Linked DNA regions of Homo sapiens: all the other regions are linked to region 2. Evidence: promoter capture Hi-C in 16 types of primary human blood cells and fetal thymus (Javierre and others, 2016). All regions are on one chromosome and are shown on one strand. The core of a region is centred on a gene start or on the middle of the fragment in contact, and the rest is flanking DNA. Distances in the headings are between cores, read along the strand shown.

Region 1 (3,368 bases), core at 70-2,569, 120 kb after region 2:
CTGGCACTACAGGTGCGCACCACTATGCTTGGCTAACTTTTTTTTTTTTGGTGGTGACAGGGTCTTGCTATTGTTGCCCAGGCTGATGTTGAATTCCTAGCCTCAAGCAATCCTCCCATCTTGGCCTCCCAAAGCCCTGGGATTACAGATGTAAGCCACCACGGCTGGCCTTCCTTTTTACTTTTTGAAGTGTAAATATGTTCTGGGTTGAAGAGTCTAATGAGTCAACATCAGACAGAGCCAGTCTCAACTACCTCATTGGGTTGTTATGAGGTTTAAATTATACATACAGTTGACCTTTGAACAATACAGGTTTGAACTGGATGAGTCTATTTATAAACGGATTTAAAAAAATAAAATGTGCCTGCCTCTTCTGTCTCCCCTTCCATCTCCTCCACCACTTCTTTACCACTCCTGAGACCCCAACACCAACCCCTCCTCCCCCTCTCCCTCCTCCTCTTTCTCCCCCTCATCCTCTTCTGCCTTAGCCTACTCAACATGAAGATGATGAGGATGAAGACTTTTATGACGACCCACTAAATATATTTTCTTCCTTATAATTTTATTTTCTCTTTTTTTCTGAGACAGTGTCTTGCTCTGTCACCCATGGTGGAGTGCAGTGGCACAATCTCAGCTCACTGCAGCCTTGACCTCCAGGCTCAAGTGATCCTCCCACCTCGGCCTCAGAGTATCTGGGACCACAGGTGTGCACCACTACTCCTGGCTAATTTTTGTATTTTTTGTAGAGACAGGAATTCACTATGTTGCCCAGGCTGGTTTCAAACTCATGGACTCAAGTGATCCTCCTGCCTTGGCCTCCCAAAGTGCTGGGATTACAGGTGTGCGCCACTGCACCCGGCCTGATTTTCTTTTCTTTTCTTTTCTTTCTTTCTTTCTTTCTTTTTTTTTTTTTTTTTGAGATAGGGTCTCTCTCTGTCACCCAGGTTGGAGTGCAGTGGCGGGATCTCGGCTCACTGCAACCTCAACCTCCTGGGCTCAAGCGATCATCCTGCTTCAGCTTCCCAAGTAGCTGGGACTACAGGTGTGCACCAGCATGCCCAGCCTGGTTTTCTAAATAATGGTTTCTTTTCTCTAGCTTACTTTATTGTTAAGAATACAGAGTAGAATATATATAACATTAAAAAAATGTGCTAATCAACTTTATGTTATCAGTAAGGCTTCCCATCAACAGTAAGCTGTTGGTAGTTAAGCTTTGGGGGAATCCAATGTTATATGCAGTTTTTCAACTGTGTAGGGGGTTGGTGTTCCTAACACCCCCCCACCCCCGCCCACCGATTGTTCAAGGTCAACTGTATATGGATGGATGGATGGGTGGATGGATGGATCTATGTATCGCAATAGAACAGGTCTTGGTACATAGTAACTACTTAATAAGTATCAGTCAGCCTTGTTATTGCTGAAGCTTATCAAGGCCTCAGAAAGCCAGCTTCACATCCTCAGCCACCACTAAAACTGTGTGAATTTGGGCCTCTGAGCCGCAGTCCCTTGTGGGTGAAATGGAAATTGATGCCTGCTTCATGGGGCAGTTGTAAAGACCACACAAACATAGATGAAAAAGGGGTGGCCGAGTGCAGTGGCTCATGCCTGTACTTCCAGCACTTTGAGAGGCCAAGGCGGGCAGATTGCATGAGGTCAGGAGTTCGAAACCAGCCTGGCCAACATGGTGAAACCCCGTCTCTACTAAAAAAATACAAAAAAAAAAAAAAAAAAAGGCTGGATGCAGTGACTCAAGCCTGTAATCCCAGCACTTTGGGACGCCAAGGCGGGCGGATCACCTGGGTCAGGAGTTTGAGACCAGCCTGGCCAACATGGTGAAACCCCGTCTCTACTAAAAGTACAAAAATTAGCCAGGCGTGGTGGCGGGCACCTGTAATCCCAGCTACTCAGGATGCTGAGGCATGAGAATAGCTTGAACCTGGGAGGCGGAGGTTGCAGTGAGCCAAGATCACGCCACTGCACTCCAGCCTGGGCAACAAGAGCAAGACTCTGTCTCAAAAAAAAAAAAAAAATTAGCTGGGTGTGGTGGCACACGCCTGTAATCTCAGCTACTTGGGAGGCTGAGGCAGGAGAATCACGTGAACCTGGGAGGTGGAGGTTGCAGTGAGCCACGATCATGCGACTGTATCCCAGCCTGGGTGACAAAAGACAGACTCTGTCTCAAAAAAAAAAAAAGAAGAAGAAGGTGGTGGGGGTGGTTTCAAGAAGCATAAGAGATATTAATATTGAATGTTTTCCCCAAAACAGCTAAATACAGGATAGTCTAATTCGTTTCAGAGAAGAACATTTCCACGTGCACTTCATTTTCATTTCACTTTTATTACATGAAATCTGTACTCAGCTCCTTCTCCATTTCTGCCAGCAAAACGTCACTTTGCAGGTCTGTCCTTTGCAAGTAATGCTGAGTAGTTCACTTCAGAACCAGGCCTCAAAAACTGCAAGTCTTAAAATTTAACAAGGGGGTCTCAGAAAGAACAGGGAAGGTCAGAAAAAAATGTTACTTATTTATTTTATTTTTGAGACAGTCTCACTCTGTTACCCAGGCTGGAGTGCAGTGGTGTGATCTCATCTCATTGCAACCTCCGCCTCTAGTTTAAGCAATCCTCCCACCTCAGCCTCCCAAGTATCTGGGATCACAGGCACGTGCCACCACGCCCAGCTAATTTTTGTATTTTTTGGTAGAGACGGGGTTTCACATGTTGGCCAGGCTGGTCTTGAACTCCTGACCTCAAGTGATCCGCCTGCCTCGGCCTCCCAAAGTGCTGGGATTACAGATGTGAGCCACTACGCCTAGCCCTTTTTTTTTTTTTTTTTTTTTTTTTGAGACAGTCTCATTCTGTCACCCAGGCTGGAATGCAGTGGTGCGATCACAGCCCTGCAGCCTCAACCTCCTGGGCTTGAGTGATCCTCCCACCTCAGCCTCCTGAGTAGCTGGGGCTACAGATGCAAGCTACTACACCCAGCTCATTTATGTATTTTTAGTAGAGACGGAGTCTCGCTATGTTGTTTAGGCTGGTCTCAAACTCCTGGGCTCAAGCAATCCTCCCATCTTGGCCTCCCAAAGTGCTGGGATTATAGGCATGAACCACCACACCCGGCCAGAGAGAATGTTCTACATCACAAAGTATTTAAAATAATTTATTCTAAATAATCTATTTTAAATAAAATATTTTAGATTATTTATAATCATAATAAACTGTTTTAAATAAGCTGATTTGTGATGATGGTAACTTGAGAGCGGCCACCACAATCCTGCCCTCTGCTGTCAAATGGGAAGTGCAGAGTCATGTGAATATCTGTAACAGTTACCCACTTGTGCTGTGATTAAAATAAGCCTTTTCTTGCAAGTA
Region 2 (3,197 bases), core at 171-2,670:
ACGGGAAAGGTAGGCAGTTGAATTTGGAGAGCTAGGCAACTTCCAAACTAAGGAGGGGCTTCTTGATTGTGCTAAGGAATTTGAATCACACACTGTAGGTGATGAGGGACGGTGAGAGGATTGCAAGCAGCTAAAACTGTGGTAGAATGTCAGCTGGAAGGAAATCGAAAGGAATCCTCAACAAGGAGAGGGTCGCCTTTCCGTCTGCTGGCCCTCCTGCTGTGGCCTGCGGCGGGGTGGGAAGGGGGGTTCCACTACACAGAAGTGTGACGCGCAGGGCTGGGCTTCTTCTAGGCTGAATTCGGGACAGATTTTCGCATTTGTTTTGCTCAAGTATTTATGGGACCAATTAATATGTTTAGCAACGTTGTCTGTGGGAGCAGTAGAGGAACTGAGAAGTTCACAAACTGTAAGAGATCCTCCAAAGAGTCCACAGGTCTGAGGCAGCAGCACCTGGGAATCTCTGGGCTCCAGTTAGTCCTTCCTGACTTTGACTCGTTACAGCAGTGTCCAGACAGGGATATGTCGGGTCCTGTGGCAGGGTTCCCGTCAGGTGGGATGGTTTAGCCCCGCATCTGCCTTCAAAGATCCCGAGATTATGCCGTCGCAGCGGCCAGGGCAGGAGTGGGTGCGTGGCAGGGACTGAGTCTAAGAGGCCTGGAGGCCCTGTCTAAAACAGAGCTGTCGCTGGGCCCTCTCGCCTTCAAGCAGTTATCATACAGCTATTCCCCTTTCTTGTTTTCAGACCCTCTCCTCTAACAGCCTGCACCTGCAAGCAGGGACCTCCGTGGCAGCAGGGACAGCGTGTCTGTCTCGGCCTCCAAAGTACCCCGGAGTCTAAGAGAACTGGGGGAGGATGGTGCGGGAGCAGCGCCCGCCTCCAAGGAGGGCCCGGGCGGCGCCTCCCGCCCCTCGGTGACCTTATGGGCCAAGGCTGTGAAGGGCAGGCGTGGCGACGCGGAGGGGCCCGGCGCTAGTAGCCCGCAGACAGCGCGGCGGCCCCCAGCGGGAGAGGCAGCCTGGCGGCCAGGACAGCGCGGCCGGGCGCCTCCGCGCAGTGCTCTGGGAGTTGTAGGCACTTGCCTCTCCTCTCTCCTTCAGCTACTGGCTCTCGAAACTCAAGGACCTACCGGTGGGTGGGCGCCTGTGACTCCCAGGCTGCGAACGCCGGGAACTCAGTTTCTTCAGAAATGCTCGAACCAGGACGGCTCCTGGAGTCCTCGCGCCCTCGCAGAAGGACTACGGGCCCCGGCGACCCCGGGGGCGGGGCTTCCGGCGCGCTGCCTTGTGGGCACGGTAGTTCCGCCGGGTCTGGCTTCCGCCTGCCGAGCGGCCCCGGACCGCAGGCCGGACTACACTTCCCGTCGGCCCGCCTGCTCTCCCGATGCCGCCTTGGCGCGAGACGTTGGCAAGCAGAGTGTCTCCAAGATGGCCGCTTGGGGAAGGAGGCGTCTTGGCCCGGGCAGCAGTGGCGGCAGCGCCCGAGAGAGGTGAGATCCAAGGGCTTGTTGCCCCCAGTGCAGGCGGCTCAGCGGCCGGAGAGCCCAGCGCGGCCTCCGAGGGCTGCAGCAGCCTTCCTTCCCTGGTTTCCCCGCGCTCCCCCTACCCTCGCCGGGCATACTGGGTTCCAGTTCCGGAGGATCCGGGATCCGGGTGGGAGCGAGGTCGAAGGCCTCGGCGGAGAGCTTAGGGGAAGGGGCGTTAGCCGGGCTGAGTAAGGTAGGCAGCGGCCATGCGGGGCGGGGCCCGAGGCCGGGCCGTGCTGAAAGGAACTGGCGCCCAGCGCAGGCCTCAGGGACCCGCCTAGCTGCCCGCGGGCCGATCGGCTGCTGAAGCACCCTTCCCGCCTGGGCACGCGCGTGGCCATCTCGGCCGCGGCCCCAGACGTGTAGAGGAAGGCAGGGCCCCCGGAGAGAGAAAGAAGGGGAAGCCTTCACAGAGCAGGCCGGCCGCGGCAGGGGTAGTTTGATCTGCACGTTTACTAGGGAGCTTTAGCTCCCGCCAGATGTGTCTCTTCCGAGCCCAGAGCCGGCCACTTCCTCGAGGGAAGATTCTGAAGACTTTTGGATGGTTCTGTGCAAGCGCTCCTGCCGTAGAAGTCCTTTAAAGTGACCTTTCCTAATGAATGGTGTGTGGGCAGGGAGCTAGGAGCGTGTTTCTTCCAACAGGGACCTCCATTTGAATAACTGATTTCTAGAAGATGAGATTGGAGTAGTTTCCGTGTTTCATGTTCAAGTTGCAGTTTTTGCATCTGGGAAGCAGTTTCAGCTAGTGGAAACCACTAGAAGCTGTTCAGCCACTAGAAATTTGGGAGAAGATGTATTGGTGGAGCCACCTGGATTAACTGTCCGCTAAAGCTTGATTGTTATAGCAGCGGTCAGCAAAAAAGGAAAAGTTTTTGTTTTGCTGGTTCTCCCCCTCCCCGTCTTTTTGGTGAGGATTGTCTAACAGAAAAGTTATCTTCCTCTCAACTACTCTGCATTATTCCTTTTCTGTGACTGATTCCATCCCGTGTTCATTGCTATTGCTTGCAGATGGCTTTCCCAGCTGGGAAGATTCTTCCTGTTTGGCAGTTGTGATAGAATCCTTTAGCTTGCTTGCACTTTATTCTTTAGCCCAGTTATCCAGCGTTGCCCATTCTGCATTTCCTCTTCCTTGGAAAAGCAGTGGTAAACACACTTTTGTTTTTCTAACTCCCGCCTGGTATTAGATTGGACCATTTAAATAAGTTACCTCAATGGTTTTCAGATGCTCTTAAAAACTAGCAAACATTTTCAAGATATTCAATGCAAACAGTAATACGAAATAACCTGTTTAGAAAACAAAGTATTAGAAACATACGCCCTCTTGTTGGACTAAAAGCATCTGAAAAGAGCCGAATAGGGATGCCTCAGGCAGGGAACAGGAGCCTTGCCAGCACAGGTTAAGCTTTTATTGATCTAAGAAAATAGATGCTGAGAATTGTTTTTGTTTTGGCTTGAGACAACTGTTTATTCAAAATGGATCTGCAAATTAGCAGTGCATAGGCTGGATCCAGTCCTTGACTGTTGAACCTCAACAGTTTTTAAGAGAATTTAAATTAGTTGCCAGCAGATTTCATATAAAACGCTCCCTGAAAAGCTGGGTAGTGGCTGACTCTTTTTGGTCGGGACAAGTGCTTGGTTCCAGTTCTTGGTTCCTCACCTGACAGCTTGACT
Region 3 (3,296 bases), core at 443-2,942, 100 kb after region 2:
GATGGACACGTAACATGAGCAAGAAATGAACTGTTGTCGTTGTAAGCCACTGAGATGGGAGGGCAGTCATTTTTCACACAGCATAACCTAACCTATACTGACTGATACAAGGTCAAGGACAGATCCTTGGTGATCACTTAGGGCACAGAAAGAGGAAGAGAAGATGTAGAAGATGATCCTCAGAGAAGAGGATGAGAACAGGAATGCAAGTGACAGAAATACTAAAGCGTTTTCTTCATTTAATCCAGCATTAACTGATGATCAGTGTCATTGTTCTAAGCACAATCCCTAAGTAGGGCAATTGAGGAACATCTTTCAATATTTCAAATTTCATGTATGCCCCCATCTGAGCACTTCCATGATTCTATAGATATATTTACATATGTGCTGTGATGGTTAATACTGAGTGTCAACTTGATTGGATTCAAGGATGCCAAGTATTGTTCCTGGGTGTGTCCATCAGGGTGTTGTCAAAGGAGATTAACATTTGATTCAGTGGACTAAGAGAGGCAGATCCACCCTCAATCTGGATGGGCACCATCTAATTAGCTGCCAGTACAGCTAGGATAAAAGCAGGCAGAGGAACACAGGAGGACTAGACTGGCTGAGTCTTCCAGCTTTCATCTTTCTGCTGTGCTGGATGTTTCCTGCCCTCGAACAACGGACTCCAAGTTCTTCAGCTTTTGGACTCTTGGACCTACACCAGTGGTTTGCCAGGGGTTTTTGGGCCTCTGGCCACAGACTGAAGGCTGTACTGTCGGCTTCCCTGTTTTTGAGGTTTTAGGACTTGGGCTGGTTTCCTTGTTCCTCAGTTTGCAGATGGCCTATTGTGGGACTTCACCTTGTGATCCTGTGAGTCAATACTCCTTAATAAACTCCCTTTCATATACACATCTATCCTATTAGTCCTGTCTCTCTAGAGAACCCTGACGAATACATATGCAAAATGATGTATGTACAAGACTATGTAATACATCCTTATTTTTGATAGCAAAAGATTGAACCAACTCAAATATCCATTAATGGAAGCCTGGTTAAATCCATCGGAGTATAGCCACACACTGTAATACCATGAAACTCAAAGAAGTAACTCTATGCACCAACAGGAGAAGTCACTACATATCTTAGTGACATATATAAAGTTTAAAAAAGCAAAGTGAGACTTGATTTTACTGTGATAATATTAACAAATATTGGCTGGGCGCGGTGGCTCACGCCTGTAATCCCAGCACTTTGGGAGGCCGAGGTGGGCGGATCACAAGGTCAGGAGATCGAGACCATCCTGGCTAACATGATGAAACCCCGTCTCTACTAAAAATACAAAAAAATTAGCCGGGCATGGTAGCGGGTGCCTGTAGTCCCAGCTACTCGGGAGGCCGAGGCAGGAGAATGGCGTGAACTTGGGAGGCGGAGCTTGCAGTGAGCCGAGATCGCGCCACTGCACTCCAGCCTGGGCGAGAGGGAGACTCCGTCTCAAAAAAAAAAAAAAAAAAAAAAAAAATTAACAAATACTGCCCCCACCATTGTTAAAATTGGTTTGCCCCCCACCATTGTTAAAATTGGTTTGCGACCAACATTTTCTTGCTCAGAGATCTGTAGGTCAGGTGGTTTGGGCTGCCGATTAGGTTCACATGTGCTCCACATGTCTCTCATTTTGGGACCCAGTCTGAAGGTACAGAGGCTACCTGGGGCAAGTCCTTGTCATGGCAGATGGCAAGAGTGCAAGAGGTCTAGGGGGAACTTATCAGTCCTCCTAAAGCCTCTGCTTGGATATGACACACTTTCACTTGTGCCCAAACGAAGTACACTACATATGGCAAAGCCCAAAGTCAGCCAAAAAGAGAAGTGAACTCTACCACAATGGGGAGAGGTGACAGGAGTGAATATTTGCAGCCCAATCAAAACACAGATCCATAAGGAGCTAGGCTCAGAAACCACACAAAGGATGGGACATGGAAACTGGGATGGGGGGATAAGAATGAGGGAACAGGTCACTAAGTGAATTCTTTACTTTTTATTTATTGTTATTTTAATGTATTAACTTAATGCTTTTGAACCATGTGAATAAAATTTAAGTAACTGAGAAAAAATTAACAATGTGCATTATACTTTGTAAACTCCATCAATGTAAAATAATCAAAAGGGTCAGAATCTAATTTAAAGAGAGTTTATTCAGTCACAAAGTGTAAGGCTAGGCTACCAACACCAACTCCAAAGGAATGAGGTCAGCGTTTCAAAATAGGGACGTTTAGCGATTTCATTTGTATAGGCAGAGACAGAGGAGTTTTGCAAGATTACAACATTATTCATACAAGGATAGCACACGGTTACAGCAAATTGATTAATTATAGGTAGTACTTCTTTTGGGAAGGGTACATTTAACATTTTTTTTTTTTTTTTTGCAGAGGGTCTAATAATCATGAGGTTTCTGTCATCTAGTCTAAGCACAGCAGGACAAAAAAGAGAAGTTTGTTTTTTTTTTGAGACAGGGTTTTTTTTGTTTTTTTTTTTTTTTTTGAGACAGGGTTTTGCTCTGTCACCCAGGCTACAGTGCAATAGCATGATCTCGGCTCACTGCAGCCCCTGCCTCCTGTGCTCAAGTGATCCTCCTGTCTCAGCCTCCTGAGTAGCTGGGGCTACAGGCACATGCCACAATGCCCAGCTAATTTTTGTGTTTTTTGTAGAGACAGGGTTTTGCCATGTTGCCCATGCTGGTCTTGAAACCCTGGGCTCAGGTGATCTGCCTGCCTCAGCCTTCCAAATTGCTGGGATTACAGGTGTGAGCCACTGCACCTGGCCAGGAAGTTAATATTTAACAAGGGTCATTAATTAAGAAGGCAAGGCCAGACATGGTGGCTCACGCCTGTAATCCCAGTACTTTGGGAGGCCAAAGCAGGCAGATCACCTGAGATCGGGAGTTCGAGACCAGCCTGACCAACATGGAGAAACCCCGTCTCTACTAAAAATACAAAATTAGCCGGTGTGGTGGCGCATGCCTGTAATCCCAGCGATTTGGGAGGCTGAGGCAAGAGAATCGCTTGAACCCAGGAAGCAGAGGTTGCAGTGAGCCAAGATCACGCCACTGCACTCCAGCTGGGCAACAAGGGCAAAACTCCGTCTCAAAAAAAAAGAAAAAAGAAAAAAAAGAAGGCAGGAGGGTTTTGTCCCTAATGTCCTTTAGTTCTCTCTAGTCATTGTACAGGACAAGAAAACTAAGAAAGTGAGTTAATCTATAATCTGAGAGCAGACATTGTAACCACATGTGACTCAAATCACAGTCACATCTCTCTCGAGTC
Region 4 (3,131 bases), core at 487-2,986, 100 kb before region 2:
AGAGCTTGCAGCTGCTGCTGCCTCGCCAGGCCTCCCCAACTCAAGTCCCCAATAAGGCTGGCCCAGAACAGGAATAGAGCAGCCCACGGCTTCTGCGAGGACAGAGGGGGTGGCTGCAGCTAAACCTGGCTTGGCAGGTGGCTCACTGGGGCTGGGCAGAGCCTCAGCTGGGGGTAGGGACTAGGGGCAGGACGCCTGGGTTTCTGGGCTTCCCTGGCTCTGCCTCACTCTCTGGTGGCCTCAGGAGGGGTCAGAGCCTCGCTGAGCCTCTGTAACCTCCAGGAGAAGCCGGCTGCCCTGGGCGTGAAGATACACAAGCTCTGATAAACATAGTACAGCCAGTGTATATATAGACCCTCCCACCTGGTTTCCAAAAGGATTTGCAACAGCTTTCACAAGAGGCAAAGAAATGAGCATTGAGAGTGAGCCAGGGTTTACACATGGGCCCCTCACGTCACAGGCCTGGGGAACTAGAACAGGGAAAAGAAGATGGAACCCAGATCCCTCCAGGAATCGCGTCTGTATGGGAGTGAGCTCCCCATCAGGGCAGGTATGCAAGCAGAGGCCAGCAGGCCTTGGTGGGGGTGTGGTTGAGAGGATTGGTGCATCAGGGAGAGGTGTGGTCAGATGCGAAGCCCCTGTTGGAAGATGAGGTGACTGGTCCTGCCTGCCCACCACAGCCCCTGCCCACAGGGAAACCAGGATGAGATAATGCTGGTGTTGGGGGCCTGTATTCATCTGTTTCATTGTTGCTATAACAAAATACCACAAACTGGATGATTTCTTCTTCATTCTTTTCTTAAATTGAGACAGGGTCTCAATCTGTCACCCAGGCTGGAGTGCAGTGGCAATCACCGCTCATTGCAGCCTCGAACTCCTGGGCTCAGGCAATCCTCCCACTTCAGCTCCTGGAGTAGCTGGGACTACAGACATGCACCACCACACCTGGCTTTTTTGTACAGATGAGGTGTTGCTATGTTGCCCCAGCTGGTCGTGAGCTCCTGGCCTCAAGCGATCCGCCCGCCTTGGCCTCCCAAAGTGCTAGGATTACAAGTGTGAGCCATGTGCCCAGCCCAGACTGGGTACTTTCTAAACAACAGAAATTTCTCAGGGTTCTGGAGGCTGGGAAATCAAGATCCAGGCCGGCATCTGACAAGGCCTCCCTGCTGTGTCCTCCCATGGCTGAAGGAAGGCCGAAAGGCAAGAGAGTGCTGGAGGCAGCAGGGGAGGGCAAAACGCCCTTTTATTACAACCAACCCCCTCGGTAACTAACCCACTGGGAGATGGCTGGCAGCATTCATCCATTCAGGAGGGCAGGCCCCCAGGATCTAATCCTGCTGTGAGGCCCCACCTCCCAACACAGCAGCTTGGGGGACATATTCAATCCTTCCGGCCCCTGCCGATTCCCTGGGGGAAGAGGGACTTGACCACAGTTTCGGGGCTGCTGGAGCCTGAGCCGCCAGGTGGGCAGCACGGGCCTCCTTGGGCTCCGCCCTCAGAAGCAGAGCTCGGCCCCGAGGGAGGGCATGGGAGCGGGAGCGCAGCCGGGACGCTAACCCCCGGCACGGGTGCTGCCTGCTGTTTGACTTGGAGCTCCTGGCTTCCCTTCTCTGAGGTGCAGAGTCCTCAGCCAGCACAACGCGCCTATCGGCTCAGTATCGGCTCGCTCCTGGAAAGCCTTCCCAGAGCAGACCCCCGGAATAAACGGAATGGCAGCACTGTCCCCAGACCACCTCCCGCACAGCCCTGCTGCCTGCTGCCTGCGCTGGGCCTTGCGGCAGCCTTCCTGCACCTGCCCTGTCTCCTGTGAGCAAGGCCGGCTCCTCCTGGTCTTGCGGGGGAGGCGGCCAGTGGGCAAGAATGAAAATGAATAAATGTGAAGAAAGTGCGGCAGGACAAGTGTGGTCAGGGAGGCATCTGAGCAGACCCCAAAGCGGGAGCACATCCGGGGAAGAGCGTTCCGGGAGGAGAACAAGACAGCTCCTGCAGAGGCCCTGCACCGCCAGGCTCGGGGTGAAGCGCAGGGAGCCAGGCACAGGGTACAGGGGAGGCAGGGGTGGGCGCCCGGGGTGGGGCACTGTGGACCATGAGGAGGCCCCCACCGAAGACGGTAGCTGCAGCAGGGATCTGGAGGAGAGGCTTCACGCCCTGGCCTCTAGAAGGGAATTCGCCAAATCCTCCCTCCGCAGCCTCCCTGCTCCTGAGCAGGCCTGTCTGCTGCATTTTTTTCTTTTTTCTTTTTTTTTTTTTTTTTGAGACGGAGTGTTACTCTGCCCCCCAGGCTGGAGTGTAGCACCTCGATCTCAGCTCACTGCAACCTCTGCCTCCCAGGTTCAAGCGATTCTCTTGCCTCAGCCTCCCAGATAGCTTGGATTACAGATGTGCGCCACCATGCCCGTCTAATTTTTGTATTTTTTTAAGTAGAGACGCAGTTTCACCATCTTGGCCAGGCTGGTCTCGAACTCCCGACCTCAGGTGATCCACCTACCTCAGCCTCCCAAAGTGCTGGGATTACAGGCGTGAGCCAACACGCCCGGCCTGTCTGCTGCAGTTTTAATGCTGCCTGATGAGGAGGCTCTCACGGCTGTAATTGAACAAAGTCTACATGCCTCTGCCATCTCCCAGTCCAGAGACTCATTAATCCCGGGCCTGGAAGAGGCGCCTGCCCGGACCCTGCTGCCTGACAGGAAATGCGGGCGTCCGGCCTCGGGGGAGGGGGGGGCGGCCGCTCCCCATCCCCATTCCCCCACCTCAGGGACAGGGAACAGGGGAGAGGGGCCCTGCCGCTTGAGACCTCCACGGGTAGTATAAACTGTCAAGGGCCTGTGCTTTGTAAATGTTAGTGACCTGCGCACTGGCTTCCGCACTCTGATGGCTGGACACGCTCTGTAAAAGCCAAAGGGTCCCATAAATGGCAAGGGAACTGCAAACGACTGGGGCTGCAGTCGTGCGCGGAGGAGCCTGCTCTCTGTGAAGGGCTGCGGCATCCAGCCAGGCCTGCGGCGTCCAGCCAGGCCTGCGAGCCGCGAGGGGCGCGGTGGCCTGCGGGGCGCTGGGTAACTTCAGGGGCGCGCACGGTAAATCTCTAGGCGTTGGGTCTGCTGCTGTCTGCAGGCTGCAGAGTCCCCGGA

Evidence for each region. Contacts are between HindIII fragments. The CHiCAGO score rates a contact against its expected background, and 5 or more counts as called.
Region 1: a fragment that was not itself captured here is called in contact with the fragment with the promoter of TMEM11 in region 2 in 1 of 17 cell types (total B cells); the score reaches 7.5 in total B cells.
Region 3: a contact is called between a fragment that was not itself captured here and the fragment with the promoter of TMEM11 in region 2, in 1 of 17 cell types (neutrophils). The highest score is 10.1, in neutrophils.
Region 4: a contact is called between a fragment that was not itself captured here and the fragment with the promoter of TMEM11 in region 2, in 2 of 17 cell types (erythroblasts and neutrophils). The highest score is 5.5, in erythroblasts.

The regions. Positions count from the first base shown.
Region 1 is chr17:21,091,301-21,094,668 of GRCh38, reverse strand. No RefSeq gene overlaps it. Among named protein-coding and RNA genes, the nearest start is that of LINC01563, 17 kb to the right of the region's middle. The HindIII fragment of the contact is 212 bases long and covers 1,214-1,425 here.
Region 2 is chr17:21,212,384-21,215,580 of GRCh38, reverse strand. It overlaps TMEM11 (transmembrane protein 11), which reads left to right and starts at 1,420. Exons shown (of 2, transcript NM_003876.3): 1 at 1,420-1,490. The coding sequence starts at 1,429. It overlaps TMEM11-DT (TMEM11 divergent transcript), which reads right to left and starts at 1,256. Exons shown (of 2, transcript NR_184102.1): 1 at 1,131-1,256. RefSeq lists enhancers at 439-648, 1,419-1,518 and silencers at 809-1,078, 1,199-1,338. The HindIII fragment of the contact is 13,322 bases long and covers 1-2,359 here.
Region 3 is chr17:21,112,441-21,115,736 of GRCh38, reverse strand. No RefSeq gene overlaps it. Among named protein-coding and RNA genes, the nearest start is that of DHRS7B, 13 kb to the left of the region's middle. The HindIII fragment of the contact is 4,183 bases long and covers 1-3,296 here.
Region 4 is chr17:21,316,900-21,320,030 of GRCh38, reverse strand. No RefSeq gene overlaps it. Among named protein-coding and RNA genes, the nearest start is that of MAP2K3, 34 kb to the right of the region's middle. RefSeq lists enhancers at 818-1,494, 1,495-2,171, 2,509-3,018. The HindIII fragment of the contact is 4,272 bases long and covers 1-3,131 here.